Linked DNA regions of Homo sapiens: regions 2, 3 and 4 are each linked to region 1. Evidence: promoter capture Hi-C in human tissues and cell types (Jung and others, 2019). All regions are on one chromosome and are shown on one strand. The core of a region is centred on a gene start or on the middle of the fragment in contact, and the rest is flanking DNA. Distances in the headings are between cores, read along the strand shown.

Region 1 (3,749 bases), core at 452-2,951:
CCACTGGGCCGCAAGGGCGCCGGGGAGCGGGAGGGGCGCTGGGGGCGGCAAGGGGTCCCAGATCCCAGGCCACGAACTGTTTTCCTTTTCCCCGGGCAAGAGCCCCGCTCCCTTCAACTGACAGAAATTCACTGGGGCAGGGGGGCGAGTGGGGAGAGAGGTCGCTCAGGGCTCGCTACTGGCTGCGCCTCCCCCGGCTCTGGTCTGGGAAGCGGCTCTGGGCCCTCCGGGCGAGCAGCTTGGGCGCCGGCGCCCCCTGCGAGGAAGATCGCGGGGTGACGGTCGGTACCCGTTCGGCTGGGCCGCGCTGCCGCTCCGATCCACCTCCCTTCCGCGCCCGCGCCCTCCCCCTTCCTTTCACTAGGAGTCCGGGATTCGGAGAGGGCGCGGGAGGCAGGCACACGGGCCCGACCCCACTCCAGCGCTCACCGGGGACGCGGGCGGGCGGCGACGGGACGCGGCGGGGGCGCGGGGCGGGCGCGGCCATGGAGCAGCAGCGGCGGCGGCGGCGGCGGCGGCGGCAACACTAGCGACCGCGGGCGGACGAGCGGGCGGGCAGGGCCGCCGGGCTCAGCGGACCGAACTGCACAGCTCAGCAAAAGCGCCCTCGCCCTCCGCGCGCCGCCTCCTGCGAGCCCAAACCCACCAACATTTTTTAACGCTCCAACCCATCCTTTGAAGAAAAGCAAAAAAAAAAAAAAAAAAAAAAAAAAAAGCAAAAAAAGAAAAAGCATTGATCGGAGAGACGGGGATATATATATATATATATATATATATATATATATAAAATTTTTTTTGGCTCCTGCTAAAATTAGCAGGGCTCGCCGCGCGCCTGTGTGCCAGTGTGTGCGAGTGTGTGTGCGTGCGGGCGTGTGTGTGTGAATGTGATTACTCCAGGACTCCTCGGGCTCCGGAGACGCCATTTTCCCCCTTGATATCTCTCTCCATAAATCGGTGGCGCGGCGGAGGCGGCAGAGTCGGGCGGGAAGCGCGGGGCCGGCCGGGGCGCCCGCCGCTCGCCGCCGCCTCCGCGCGCCCGGGGGCCCCGGCGCCCCCCGAGCTAGGGCGGCCAGCTCGCGGCTCGCCGTTTGACAGATGCTCATCGCCATGGAGTTGCCGCAGCAGCACCTTTGGGGGCTCGGGCGAGCGACGGGAGCCGGGATCTGAGCGAGCGCCGGGGCCAGCGGAGCCGGAGCCGCCGGGACATGGGTGAGCACGCGCGGCGACCTTGGCCCGGGAGCCCGGGCGCCCAGCCTCCCTCCGCGCCGCGGGCCCCCGCACTCCCGGAACCGGGGGCGACGTGTGTGCCCTGCATGCAAAAGTTCACGTCGCCTTGCTGGGTCTTTGACTTTGCACCCGGCGGGAAGGGGGAGACCGGGCCGAGGGGGCGGGATGCCGGTCCGGGCGAGGTTGCAGGAGATGGGCGCGATTCCGGCGGGCCGGCGGGTGGGCGGCGATGCTGGCTCAATTGGAGTGGCTCGTTGGTGGCGGCGATGGTGGAAGCTTTGGGCTGGAGGGCTGGGAGCTTATTGAGTTTCGCCTAATCTGATCTACCCCCCCTCCGCCCCCCGCCTTTTGCACCCTCCCTCGGTCCTGCAGCCGGCTGGCGGGGCTGGCGGGTTTGGCGTTGGTGGAGTGGACTCGGGAGGGGGAGGGGGTAAGGAAAGGGGTGGGAAGGCAGGATTTTTTTTTTCTCTCTTTGTAACTTGCAGGTTAAGTGGAGCTAGAGAGCTACATTGTAACCTAGTTGGATTTTTTTGGGGGGGGAATGTATCAGAATCTAACGTGTCGTTAATAGAAAGAAGAACAGGCAAGAAGTGGTCCAGCCGGCGAAGGTTGGTGTGTGCTTGTGTTGTGCCTGTGTGTTAGTCTTTTTCTTAAAAATCTTAATCAATGGATTTGAGTCTCTTTCTTGTGCTCTCTGGTTTTGGGACTCTGAAAAGATAGGAATTCCCTTAAAAGCAGACGAATGCCTTTTTGAAAGCACGCATTGTGTGCGTTTCTAGAGGAGCCGTGGGCTTGGGAATGAACGGCAGGCTTCCCCGTTCGGTGGTTTCCAGTGGGAAATCACTCCGGAAAGGGAACCCTTCGGTATCGATTTATTGTTTTTGTCTTCCAAACCATTATCTCTTTGACCGAAATACTGTCTGAGAAGTTCCGCAGGGACAAAGTCAGGTAAACTGGACCGGGCAGATCTTTGGCAAGATGGTGATAACGGGGATGCTGTTTTCAGTGTCTGTTTGTGATGGAAGCATTGTTGGGTAATAGCAATTTCTGATCGGTAGAGCATGCTGGTTCTAAAAAAATAAGTTAACTGCCGAAATACTGTCTTCCAGCCCCCCTCCCCTGCACAGTACAGCACCTATTCCCCCCGCCCCCCCATCCAGACCGCTTACTACAAGTCTGAAATCGGATCCAACTGGAAATATTTTCATTGGAGATTGAAAGTTGTGCAATTGGAAATAGATGAGGCTAGAGGTATTGAGAGTGTGGAAGGGGAGTTCTTATTGCCCCCTAATGCTGCATTTATTCTTTATGTGTGTCTGTGTTGGATTCTCAGGGTGTGTATCTGTCTAAAAGGACTGTTGTGGGAAGGATTTCCGATTCGTTTCCGTTTCAAATAAACTGTCCTGATAATCTCACGGTTGACATCTAACGCTAAAAGGGCAATTTGTGTGTCTCTTTATCCCTGCAGAAACTCTCCTCCAAAAGGGCAGTTTATTCTGGAATTCTACAGCAGATACCTTTCCCTTCCAGCCCCTACACTCCCCCCACCTCCTGCCAACTATCCACACCTTTCCCCTTAAAGTTTAGTTGGAGTCCACTGGCGTTGATTGTTTTTCTCTTACATCTTTTTCCTTCTTTTTCTTTTCATTCCTTCACTCTTCATCCTGTTTTTCTTCTTTTTCTGTAGATTTATACTAAAAACTAATTTCTTGAAGTCTCTGTACTGTCACCAAAACTATCTGCCGATTTGGCACCATCTCTTACCCTCCTTTAGTAAATAGGTATATCTCCTGTGCCCCATCCAAACTCATCTTCACGTGCAAAGCATGTGTGTGTCGTGGGAGAAAGGGGATGGGGTAGAGAAGAGGTATTTGGAGAGGAAGGGCGGTGTTGTGTGCAGGCCACATCTTCAACACTGGACCAGACCTGGGCATTCCGGGGAGAGTTTCCTTTGCACACCCCAGCTGGGATGGGAAGGCGGAGCCAACCAGACAGGGGCGTGTGAGGGAGGAGAAAGTTTGTAGCACTTTAAGATGTAGCTAGTTTACCATCCCAGGTCACTCCCTCCCTTTTTTTCTGATTTCTCTGGCTTCTACCATCCTTAAACTCCCTGAGGGAGGCGTGAGCTCTTTTGCTCTGACGAGGGATTCCCAGGTGTCAGAGTGAAGGTGAGGTGCTGTGTTTTCCCCTGTGCTTAGTCTCATTGCCTGTTCCCAGAAAAGGGTATTAAGACAGAGTGTTTGGGGGAAAGTCGGAAGAGGAGGAAGAAATCAAGTGTGGTTAAACAGAGTATTTGCAAACGGCAGGGAATGTAGCCCCCAAAGATATGGAGACCAGGTACCCAGAGTGTTGCTTGGCACACGATTTCTCCTCCCCCGTTAAGGGGACAAAACCAAAACCAAAACAAACTATTGGTCTTGGGAAGTTGAGTTGGTGTTAGACCTGGGCTGTGGGAGTTGCTAGCCACTATAGTAACCTGAGCTGAGCTGGGGGAGGAGGTGGTGAGCGAATGCACCACCGGG
Region 2 (3,749 bases), core at 852-3,351, 170 kb after region 1:
GGTCTCTTCCTTTTCCCCTCTCTCTTTCCTTCCTTTTACACACACAAGTGCCAGCCAGGCACATAATATGCTTTTTTTTTCTGGATCTCATTGTCCTCTTCAATAAGATGAGAGAGTGTTAGAATCCTTCATGAGTCTAACATTGAATGAGTCCTGCTTGCTTTCAGTCTGCCATCTGCCCCATTCTCTAGGTTGGGAATGCTAGCCTCCAGAGGTGAAACCTGGGCCATGGGCCTCTCTGGGGACCTCCTCAAGGTTGCTAAGCCTCACACCGGCGAGGCTACACTTGCCATCCCTGGGCTCTGCTCCTGGAGCCCACCCTCTTTCTGAGTGCCAACAGCTGCCTGCCCCATGCCCCAGGCTCACGGCCTTCCACGCCCTCCCAGGTGCAGGCGGTTCTAGGAAGCGAATAAGAGCCTCAGCTTTGATCACACACACAATAACCTCAGCACCGAGGCATCCATCCTAATCACTTTTGATTACAAATGGATTAAATGGGACAGCAGCTGCACAGAGCTGCTTTGATTCAGCCCCGCTCAATAATGAGATGCACAGGCACAGGCTGGTAGGCTGCAGCTATCAGCCCCGCCCAGCCCTCAGCCCACCACCTTCAGGGGCTCCTCTGAGTGGTAGGCAGTGATCAGAGACACAGAGGAAACTAAGGCAACTTGCATGAGCCCTGAAATCAGTAACCTCAGTGCCCTCAGCCTCTTTTGAGATCTCCTCATGGCCCACCTACATGCTATACTCTGGCAGTTGTGCCCCCACGTTCTGCACCATTGCTGCAAACATGCAGCTTGGTCCGTCCGTATTCCCATGAAGCTGGGTGTGCAGCCATGGGTCAAACAACAGCTGCTCTGCTTAAATGAATCCCCAGAGGGTCCGGGGGCTCTTCCCCTCCTCTATGCCCCATATATGGCCATGTGATCTATCAGGGCTGGTAGGGATAATAATATTCTCACTAATATCATTTATTGGTATAATAGGTATAAAGCACATTCATGGCCTCCATCCCATTTTATTTTCCCCCAAATCCTGTGAGCTAGCCAGGATTTGGAGGACCTTATTTTCAGAAATAAGGAAACTGAATTTCAAGCAAGTAAAATGGCTTTTCCTGGGTGCCTTTGATACCCATTCTGGTTCTTTGGGGACCAGCCCAAGCTCTGTCATTCTGCCATGTAAGCATCTACCAGCTTCTCCTTCCCCTCACTGGAGAGTGTCCTGAGTGTATCTAATTTCTAATGGTGGCCCCATGAAAGCAGTGATTGCCATGTGTGTCTATTTTTGTGTACAGACTGAACCACTCAAGGGCTGATGAGGTATGAGCAGCTGCCTTGGCTAAATTGCAAGGCTTAAGGGAGGGAAGGGAGATAAGTGGAATTCAACCCCAAAGCCAAGAGTCCTCTGGGCTGGTGGATGCACTAACAAATTTGACCTTGGGGCATTTAATGTTTGGCCAAAAGAGTTTGAAAGAGCACTGGGGAATTCCCTGTTTCTAATAAAAGCTTCATAGAAGAGCCAACATTTCCAGTCACCTCCTGCCCACCTTTGCCCTAAGCCCAGGAAGGCAAGTTGCCAACCTTATGCTGAGGTGGCCACTTACAACTTGCCCATGGTAATAGCCAAAGCCCCTCCGCATTGCCCACAGCTCTCCCATGTGAAGAGATTTAGAGGGCCAGGTGTAAGGGAGAGGAAGGGTACAAAGTTTAACACCAACAATTTCATCTGTTAATGTGGTACAGTATCTTCTCCTGATGATCTCATTTTAGTGGTCTAAGTTGAGCCTCGCCATACCCCTTAAAGATATCACAGGATGGAGGGAAGACTAACTCATATTTATGAGGCACTGACTCCTTTGTCTCATTACAGACATCGAAACATCCCCATCCAAACATCCCTATGAGGTAGCTAATGTTATCCACCTTTTATGGATGATAAACAGAAACTTGAGATTCAGCTTCTAAGAAGAGCTCATATCTGAACTTGAGTATGATTGGCTACTAAGCATGTGTTACTTTGCAGAACACACTGCCCCATCTGCATTCTAACTGCACAAGTGAATAAATTGAGCTGAATATGTGAAATGATAAGTAACTGGAATAAGGTCACAGTGCTAGGTCATGACAGGATTTGGATTAGAATCCAGGAGTCTTAACCTCAGTCTAGTCCTCTTTCTACATTATAAACTGCAGGGGCTCTTCCAACGTGCAAATTACTTTTTCCTGCCAGAAGCCTTCACCATGATGTTCCATCTACCTGAAGTGCCTCTCCCACAGCTCTTCAGTTAGCAACTTCTACTCATCCTTTGGGGGATGGCTTTATTGTCACTTCCTCAGGAAAGCCTTCCTTGACCACTCTCAAATTCTACATCAGACCGGTCTTCATTAATTCTTTTGTCCTACCCATACCTTTTTTCTCATTACTTTTTCTTGAACTTATCACAGCTCTAAATTATATTTGGTTTTCATATTCAAAATAAATGCTGTCTCCCCTAATAGACTCTTGGGTTCCCTGAGAGCAGGGCTTATATATTATTTGTTCATTGGCGTATCCCCAGAATGCATCACAAGGCCTGGCACTTGCAGGGGCTCCCTAAGAGAAAGTTGAAATTCAGAATGAATGTAGCAAGCAGATGAGAGGGGGAAATGAATCTTCAGTTCCAAAGAAACTCGCAGACATGTAGACCCACTGGAATAGGTCCAGGTGTAGCAGACTCACTGCGTTTATCTGGGATTTACTCAGGTACATCTTGAATTCCTAATAATGCAGATTTCTCAACGTGTTCTACAAGGTGGGTCAATCCCAAACACCTTTTGATTCTCCTTCCCTAAGACATCCTCAATGTATGTAGTGCTGCAGCCAAGACAAGCTATGCATCAGCCCACAAACCCACTGTGTGTTAGTGTTCTGCATTGAGGCTCCCAGCACTGAGCCAAACCAAGATGTTCATGGGCTATTGACCATGCCTACCCTACCACCTACCCACTCCAATCTTCCCAACGTCAACAAAAATCATTCTTCAACTTCTTAGGCAAAAACCCTTGGCATCGTCCTTCACTCCTGTCTTAACCTCTCATGCCATAGCTAATCAGTCAGCAAATACTGGGGGCTGTTAAGAAAACAGCCAGTGGGCACTTTTTTTCAGTGTATCTCAAATTGTGCCCCACATTGGTTTTTCTCCTCCATATTACCCCCCATATCTCTCAGAGTCATTCATGCACCATGACCTATACCTCTTAGCTCTGACCTAATGGCTCTTACGTGATGTGGCCTCACTCTGCTGTCACCTCCTACCACTGCCCTTGCTCTTTTTCTCTGCTCTAGGGTGCCAATCTCTTTGCTGTTCCACCAACACTTTGAGTACTATTCATGTCAGTAACTTTGCACATTCTATTTCCTCTTTTGGATTGCTCTTCTCCCAAATACCAGATGGCTCACTCCCTTCTTTCATTCATTTGGGTTTCACTCTAACATTCCCTCCTTAGAGAGGCCTTCCCTGATCAGCTTATTTAAAGCAGCATATCCCCCACTCTGCTTTTTCTTTCTGCTTTATTTCTCTCTTCTTTTATTATAATTAACAGGTTATAGTGTTATGATCGTTATTGTTTATTGTTATTATTTTACTTCATTGTTTGTCTCATTGAGAATAAGGACTTTGGGTTTTTTTTTGGTTCGTTTTGGGGTTTTTATTTGTTTGTTTTTTGTTTTTGTTTTTGTTTTCATTTTGCTATTTCCCTACATCCTAAAAA
Region 3 (3,749 bases), core at 453-2,952, 160 kb before region 1:
AGCCAACCTGTTTGCCATTCTTGTGCAAGGTGGGAAACTGCAATATCCCCTAAAAAGTTAATGTTTCTCATTAGAAAATCTCTTATTTCACTTCAACCTAGTTTCAGATTTTTGTCTCTAAGGTCACTAAGGGTCTCAGCTTAAAGTCATTTCTCCAATTGTTTGTGGCATCTTTTTTTTTTTATTCTTCCCCCTCTTCCTATTAGCAGTCAATTAACTGTAAATTAGAAAATATTGTTACATTTGAATTATTTTGAGCAAATGCAAACACACTATAGAGATTGACAATTCACCCATAATTATCACATTAAACATTTTTTTTGCAAATTTCAGAGCTACAAAAGTACTAATTAGGGAGATTTGATGTTTTTAGTGATCTCAGGTATTTAAGGGAACAACACATGCATATGGGGCTGTAGATACTCTAATTCTTTCTTGGTTCTCTCAGTTATAAAAGCTTAACCTTTATAATAAGTTCTCCTTTTAACCATAAACTTGAGAAACAGAAGAAAATCCACTACTAGGAACATCCTTCACCACCACACAAGCTCAGTTTCCAGGGGCCAAAACAAAAGGCACATTATATATCTTCAGCTGCATGGCCCAAAGGTACCTGACTGGAACTGGGAGCCCCTCCAGCCCAGTCAGAAGGAAAATATTACCCTTCTATTTAACAAGGCAGTGCTGAAGGATTAATCATTAAATAAATAGCAACAAGCCAGGAGATTTACAGGAGGGACAGAACCCCACCCGGTGTTCTCAATTTTTCTGGGATTCAGGATGGAAATTATTACAAGAATAGTTTGGAAGGGGCTTCACTAACAATCACCTTCCAAGGCAAGATGGAACAATGCGTGCAACCTCAAGTAGGACCCAGACAAGAGGGAAGTTCATCACCCAAGCCCTCTGGGGAGCATAGGTTCCTTTTGTCTAACAGCTGGCATCCATGCACAGGATTGATCAAACCTGGAGAATGTGCAAAGCCTGGCCATGTGTTGCTGTGTGACTTTAAGCAAGTCATTTAACCTTTTTGGACTTTGTCTTTCTCAATTTGAAGCGGATATGCTACCCATATTATAAAGTACACCATAACTAGTCATACATAGGAAATAAAAATCTTGTCACTTGGGTTGTTTATGTCTCTTCAGGCCTCCCTCCTACAAGGACAGATCCAAATAAGTCCTGACTCTCTTTAGAAAAAATATTTCTGTAATCTGAGCCAGGAGACCAGAAGCATTTGTCTCAACAAAATGGGGCATATGCCTTCTCTTAGAAAGTAGATCACAATTCTAAGAATGCTTCATGAATGACCTCACCTTTGGGTTGTAACATGTTTGGTCTATTCTATGTGACTAGATGGTGTTGAAAAGATATAGACATTTCATGAAATATGTTATCTCAAAAGTACATCCCTATTAAAAGAGATTGAACAAGAGTCTTTATCTGTGATTAGATTTATTCTGTCTCCTGTTATAATTTGTATGTATGAACTCAACAAAAAATATTTACCAGACATCTAAAGTGTGCTAAAACCAGTGTTCAATGTTCAATAAAATGTAAGAAAATGATGGGACACAATCTCTGTATATATGGCAATTCATAATACAGTCAGGATATAGTAAGAAGAGAAAAAGATAGCACAAATAAAATATGTAAATAAAAATATAAGCAGCATTTGGAAGGAGACATGAAAGCTTCATTTCCACTGTAGCTGGGACAGACCTGTGATGTTGTTTTCCTGAGTCCAGGGTGACCTGGCAGGAAAGGGCAGTGATGATAGCTCCTGGGTGGTGGCACCCTGGTATTGTGCTAGGGGCCAAGCTGCCAAAGAGCATCACTTGGGGTGTCAAGCAGGTAGTAAAGTAGATTTAGACATGTACAGGGACTCATTTCCTCAAGAATGCATTGGAAGGTCAGGTGAGCCAAGCCACAGACTATGGCTTGATCTGCAATCCCAGGCTTCAATCCTGTGCTCCAGATCAGAGAAGGCCTGATGGAGAGTTATCACAAGGGGTCCTTGCTATGAAGTACCCATCAAGAGGACTTCTCACTGTTTTTGAAAGTTTCTGAGGTCTCCTTTGCACAATGTCAACTGTTTAATGTGTAACTAAATTGCCATAGCATGGTGAAAGACAATATCTTTAATGGTACGCGGGTACAGCACAGCCCATAACAATATCATCCCTATGAGCATCAGAAAAAGAAAGGGGTAGGTGTTCTCTGTCACTGAGAAACTCTACTTCAGGTTTATGAAAGGGGCACTATAGTAGTCCCAAACTCTGTACAATCTACATCATGGCAGGGATGATAAATGATAATTCTCCAGGATTGGAGAAAAAAGAAAGAGGACAGATTGTGCTGAAGGGTCTGATCTCAAAGGGCAGACCAATAAGAATCCACTTTAGTTGACTCTCCCTCCATGCTCAACCTCTATGCTTTGGACAAGAATAGCCTCATTTTTTCTATCCTCATGGACTTCGGTGTCTCCATTTCCTCCCTCTTTTGACTCTGCTTGTTGTGAGAGCAAAGAATCTTCCTGAATGGGGTGGATGGTATGGGAAAGAAACCAAGCATTGTTGATTAGGGATTTTCATGATGATTAACAAAACAACAACAAAAATCAAACAAAGGAAATTCAAGGAAGTTGTTATATGAATATTATTATATGAATGACAGAATGTGATTAAGTGTTCAATGAGAAGATTAAATAATGCGTTTTCTGTATGTTTATTGTGGCACTATTCACAATAGCAAAGGCTTGGAACCAACCCAAATGTCCATCAATGATAGACTACATTAAGAAGATGTGGCACATATACACCGTGGAATACTATGCAGCCATAAAAAAGGATGAGTTCATGTCCTTTGTGGGGACATGGATGAAGCTGGAAACCATCATTCTCAGCAAACTATTGCAAGGACAAAAAACCAGACATCACATGTTCTCACTTATAGGTGGGAATTGAACAATGAGAACACTTGGACACAGGAACGGGAACATCACACACCGGGGCCTGTCATGGGGTGGGGGCAGGGGGGAAGGATAGCATTAGGAGATATACCTAATGTAAATGACGAGTTAATGGGTGCAGCACACCAACATGGTGCATATATACATATGTAACAAACCTGCACATTGTGCACATGTACCCTAGAACTTAAAGTATAAAAAAAAATTACCAAAAAAAAAAAATAATAATGCGTGTTCAAAGGTGTCCCAAAAATGCAATAGCGACATGATCTGGAATCAAAAGATAAAGTTCCATAGAGGAAAAGAAAGACGAAAATGCAGTTTTGAAGGATGAGAAAGAGTATAATAAATTGAGAGCATGATAGCATGTATGAGGACATTTCCAGCGAGGAGAACAGTTTTCCAGCTTAAGCAAAGCTGTAAAGATGGAATGAGTTTCATGTTTGTCAGAGAATAGTAGCCAAAATGATCTCCTTTCTTTCAGGGTATAATCTTTTGGGGTACAGTCTCTGATTTCTGGACTCCAGCCTTCTGACTCCTTTCCCTCTTGTCTTGTTCCCTCTCCCATATCCATGTCATGCTTGCAGGGAGGCTTCCTAGAATACTTAAACCAGGATGGCCCTTTTATGCTTGTATGTAACAGTCATCATATACTCCTCCAAGATTCACTTAAAAAATCTGTCCTAAACCTTATGCTAAACCTTATGTCTGCCATTTCTACAGGCATATATCCCAAAAAGTGCCTAGCACAGAGTAAATTTTAAATTAATTAAATGAT
Region 4 (3,749 bases), core at 767-3,266, 130 kb before region 1:
ATTTACAACTTTAGGCCAGGCCTCCATCTGTTGTAATAAATAGAAGAGAAGATTGGGTAATTACCTATTATGTTGATCCCTGTAGATAGCCACTTTTCCTAAACCCCTCAAATCACTTTGTCTTTAGAAGCATTTCCTTCCTTCTCTTACCCTCGTATTTTCTGACTGATTGTATGGTAAATACTTTGAGGGCAGGGACAGGATCTTCTACGTCCCATATAACTAGACTGCTTGGCTTAGTTGGTGCTAACAAGCACCAGGGTGTCACATGGGGTTTCAGAGGTGGGGCGGGGCACGGGGATCCCATCTCAGTGCTGTACTGGAATCTGCCCAGGATTCTTGTTTATAAGCACAACTGGCCAAGTGCAGACTTTCTGTGATATCTTTCCCTGACTTCTTAACAGTCAAAATTCAGCCTGTTCTTCAAGATTCAATTAATTCCACCTTCTCCATGAAGATTTACCCAAATATGCAAGTTGATTCCCCCCAATAGAATCCCTCAAGCTATTGATGACTCCTTTATAGCCCCAAGTCATACCCTACCTTTCACCGTTAATTATGTCTCCTCAATTAAAATAGAAGTTCAGGGACTGTGCATTTTATTTCTTGTAGTTCTGCCCCACTCACTTCCCTTCTCACCCACTTCTACCCTCAACTAGTATGAGTATGTGGCACAGAATTGAGGTCATATGAAAAATGACAATGTGAATGATTTTTATAAATATGTTGGGACTTACCCATCCAAGCAAAACCTGTTCCCTTCAAAGCAGTTTTCTTAGAAAGCTCAGCATATTACAGCCTTTGATGTTCTCTCCTCTCTCAAGTAGGTTCATCTTTTAGAGGGTAGGTAGCTGATGCTTACTTTATTCTATATTAAATAATCTGACCTCTCCTGTGCTTTCTCTTCACCAACAGACTGGGCACATTTCTCCAGTTGAAAATTGTTTCCAACTTGAAGCACTCTAGTTGAGATTAAAAAGATAAGGCAAATGAAATATCAGAGAATGGCTCAAATATGTATTTAACCAATTGTTGCGTGTCTTTACATTCTTCATGCTCTATGCAGAACAGATCTTTCCTCTTTAGAGCCCCCATAGCATTGGGAACTCCAACAGAGCACACCCCTGATACACGCAGTGGTGGGCTGCTGCCCTGACTCTTGCTGCCCCACCAGACCATGAGATCTGGTGGAGCAGTAAACAGGCATTGCTCTTCTGTCTTTGCCTCAAGCCCTCACATAGTATCTTAATTAACACATCCAAGAATCGACCCATTAACTGTTTTAAAAAAAATCTTTTTCTCTTCGCATTGCTAAAGAAATTCAGGGAAGACACTAAACAGTGTGGATTTGAGAAGCCAAGTAAGATTTCATGGCTTACCACAGACCAGATGTACACTTTAATATAGTAAAATATAGGTAGGTAGAGGAAGAAGGAGGAGAGAAACATGAAGCAAAAATATTGATGCTTTGTCTATTATATATCAACAAGAAAATTGAGGCATATTTCATCATCACTACCCTACATAGGTTCAGTGATTCTATGAATATTGTTCAATCAAGAAATTGCCTCCATTTGGTAAGAGTTTCAAGTTACGGATTACCATGGCTTTGAAAGAAAGCAGAGTGGCTTTGGGAAATCAGTTAAATTTTCTAGGCCTTGGTTTCCTCATCTTTAAAATGAAAATAGTGGTGCTTGTCCTGTCTCCCTAGGATGAAGATAAAGATTATATGAGATAGTATATGTAAAATACTGTGAAAAGTACTAGGGCAAGTATAAGGAATTATCATCTAATTTAGTTGCTGACAGGGGAAGAGAACATAATTATCTGAAGATGGATATGGTATCCATGCTGAGTCACTTGCTTTCAACTCTCTTTTACCCAGGGCCAAAGCTTCTTTATGAGAAAGCACCAGGCAGGTGTAATCAGGCTTCACAAAAGATGGTTCTCCTCCCCTTCCTTTCTCTTTCACCTTCCAGGATTTTGGATCCAAGGAATGCTTGACAAAATGAACTTGAAATTATTTCCTTGCAACTACATTGTCTCTCTTTAATGTTGTAAGAAATATATTTTAATCGCTATTGTTTTTCAATGTCTCATACAGAAAGAGGAGATGTTTCATAAAATTTGATGAATGAGTAAAGTTGCTAACCAACAAAGACTTGAGATTTATTCATTAATTAATTTAGTAATTTATACCAAGGATATATCCAGGTCATTTAGAAAATGGCTCCTCTTTCTTGTGTTTTAGATCCACTAGTTAATTGGTTTCTCTGCCTGGCTGATTGTCAGTCGAGACGCCTACGTTGCTTATAACTAGCATGTCCATAAACAGAGCAAAGTTATTAATTTAATCTGCTTCAGTTGGTAGGCAATGTGGGGGAACCAGCCTGTGTGTACATAGTTCTCTTGGGTTTGTTTACTGGATTACCACTTCAGAAACAGCCAGACTGTGTCTGTCTATACAACACCTACACCACTGAGCTGTTAGCTTGTGTACCCAAACAATTCATTGACTCAGTGGCAAGTGTCAATTGCTTGGCTGAATTTCTGGTTGTTTAATGAAATTGAATAGTTGATTAATTTCAATTGGTTAATCCAATAATGCTCTGGAGACCAACTGTTTTTTAAAGAAAAAATATGTATTTCTTTACTTGAAAACACTAATATTAGTTTTAATCACCTTCACACAATTACATTTTTTTTTTTTTTTTGAGACAGAGTCTCATTCTGTCACCAGGCCATAGTGCAGTAGCATGATTTTGGCTCACTGCAACCACTGCCTCCCAGGTTCAAGCAACTCTCCTGCCTCAGCCTCCTGAGCTGGGGCTACAGGCACATGCCACCATGCCCAGCTAATTTTAGTATTTTTAGTAGTGACGGGGTTTCACCATGTTGGCCAGGATGGTCTCGATCTCTTGACCTTGTGATCCACACCCGCCTCGGCCTCTCAAAGTGCTGGGATTACAGGCATGAGCCACCGTGCCCAGCCACACAATTAAATTCTTTATTCCAGCCTAGGCAAATATAAAGAACATTGGTTTAGGAGCCAAGAGATCTGTATTCTTTCTAGTCCTGCCTCTCCTATTGCCTAATTGCTTGACCTTGGGAAATAAACCTTACACTTCACCTTCTCTCCCCACCACTATGCCCTACATTACTTCTCACTCCCAGCCTCAATGGTATCACTTGTAAATGAAAAGCTTAAACCAGTAGCTCTCAAGTTTGTGTTTTATGAACTTCTGATGCCATGACTATACTGGACTTCCTCATTACAGAATCCTTGTTTATGTAGGCTTCAAATATCTAAGTGCTTGTGACTCCTTCTTATTATGTATATATTATATCTCAGAGAAATTGCAAGGCTTCTAAATAGGGTTGACACTTGGGTCTCATTTTGGGCTATGGGTAGAAGTTAAACTGGTGAAGAAGTAGACAACAAAGGGGAAAGTTTAAACACAACCACATTTACAAGATAGGAGAGTCATAGTCATAATGCTTCCAAAGAAGTAGATGTTTCTCAGTTTACCCTGAGAAGAGATGTGGCAATAGTTAGAACGGGATAATAGGTGGTGGCTATGGTGTGGTGGCTCTCACAGTTATTTAATCAGTGATAGTTCTATTATTTCCCAACACTTGTTTTAAATGATGACAAAGGCTCCAGAAATGGAGCTTATATTCCTAAGCCTAAACCTTCCTGGTGGCTCTAGGACATGGAATTGGTGCCAATGTGCCATGTGGTTGAATGG

Evidence for each region. The method cuts DNA at HindIII sites, captures the fragments that hold promoters and counts their contacts. A contact is called where the count stands out against the background at its distance.
Region 2: a contact is called between a fragment that was not itself captured here and the fragment with the promoter of SETBP1 in region 1, in 2 of the 25 tissues and cell types used here (aorta and heart right ventricle).
Region 3: a contact is called between a fragment that was not itself captured here and the fragment with the promoter of SETBP1 in region 1, in 1 of the 25 tissues and cell types used here (dorsolateral prefrontal cortex).
Region 4: a contact is called between a fragment that was not itself captured here and the fragment with the promoter of SETBP1 in region 1, in 1 of the 25 tissues and cell types used here (H1 embryonic stem cells).

Annotation. Positions count from the first base shown.
Region 1 is chr18:44,679,187-44,682,935 of GRCh38, forward strand. SETBP1 (SET binding protein 1) reads left to right here and starts at 1,702. Exons shown (of 6, transcript NM_015559.3): 1 at 1,702-1,835. It overlaps SETBP1-DT (SETBP1 divergent transcript), which reads right to left and starts at 686. Exons shown (of 2, transcript NR_187430.2): 1 at 430-686. RefSeq lists silencers at 1-466, 1,137-1,386, 1,527-1,576 and enhancers at 3,448-3,517, 3,628-3,697, 3,748-3,749. The HindIII fragment of the contact is 9,552 bases long and covers 1-2,966 here.
Region 2 is chr18:44,851,601-44,855,349 of GRCh38, forward strand. The region is part of intron 2 of SETBP1 (SET binding protein 1); the gene reads left to right. Among named protein-coding and RNA genes, the nearest start is that of MIR4319, 120 kb to the right of the region's middle. The HindIII fragment of the contact is 5,802 bases long and covers 1-3,749 here.
Region 3 is chr18:44,520,557-44,524,305 of GRCh38, forward strand. The region is part of intron 1 of LINC01478 (long intergenic non-protein coding RNA 1478); the gene reads right to left. It also overlaps the pseudogene MLECP1. Among named protein-coding and RNA genes, the nearest start is that of LINC01478, 9.3 kb to the right of the region's middle. The HindIII fragment of the contact is 3,422 bases long and covers 1-3,413 here.
Region 4 is chr18:44,548,741-44,552,489 of GRCh38, forward strand. The region is part of intron 3 of LINC01601 (long intergenic non-protein coding RNA 1601); the gene reads left to right. Among named protein-coding and RNA genes, the nearest start is that of LINC01601, 19 kb to the left of the region's middle. The HindIII fragment of the contact is 3,318 bases long and covers 358-3,675 here.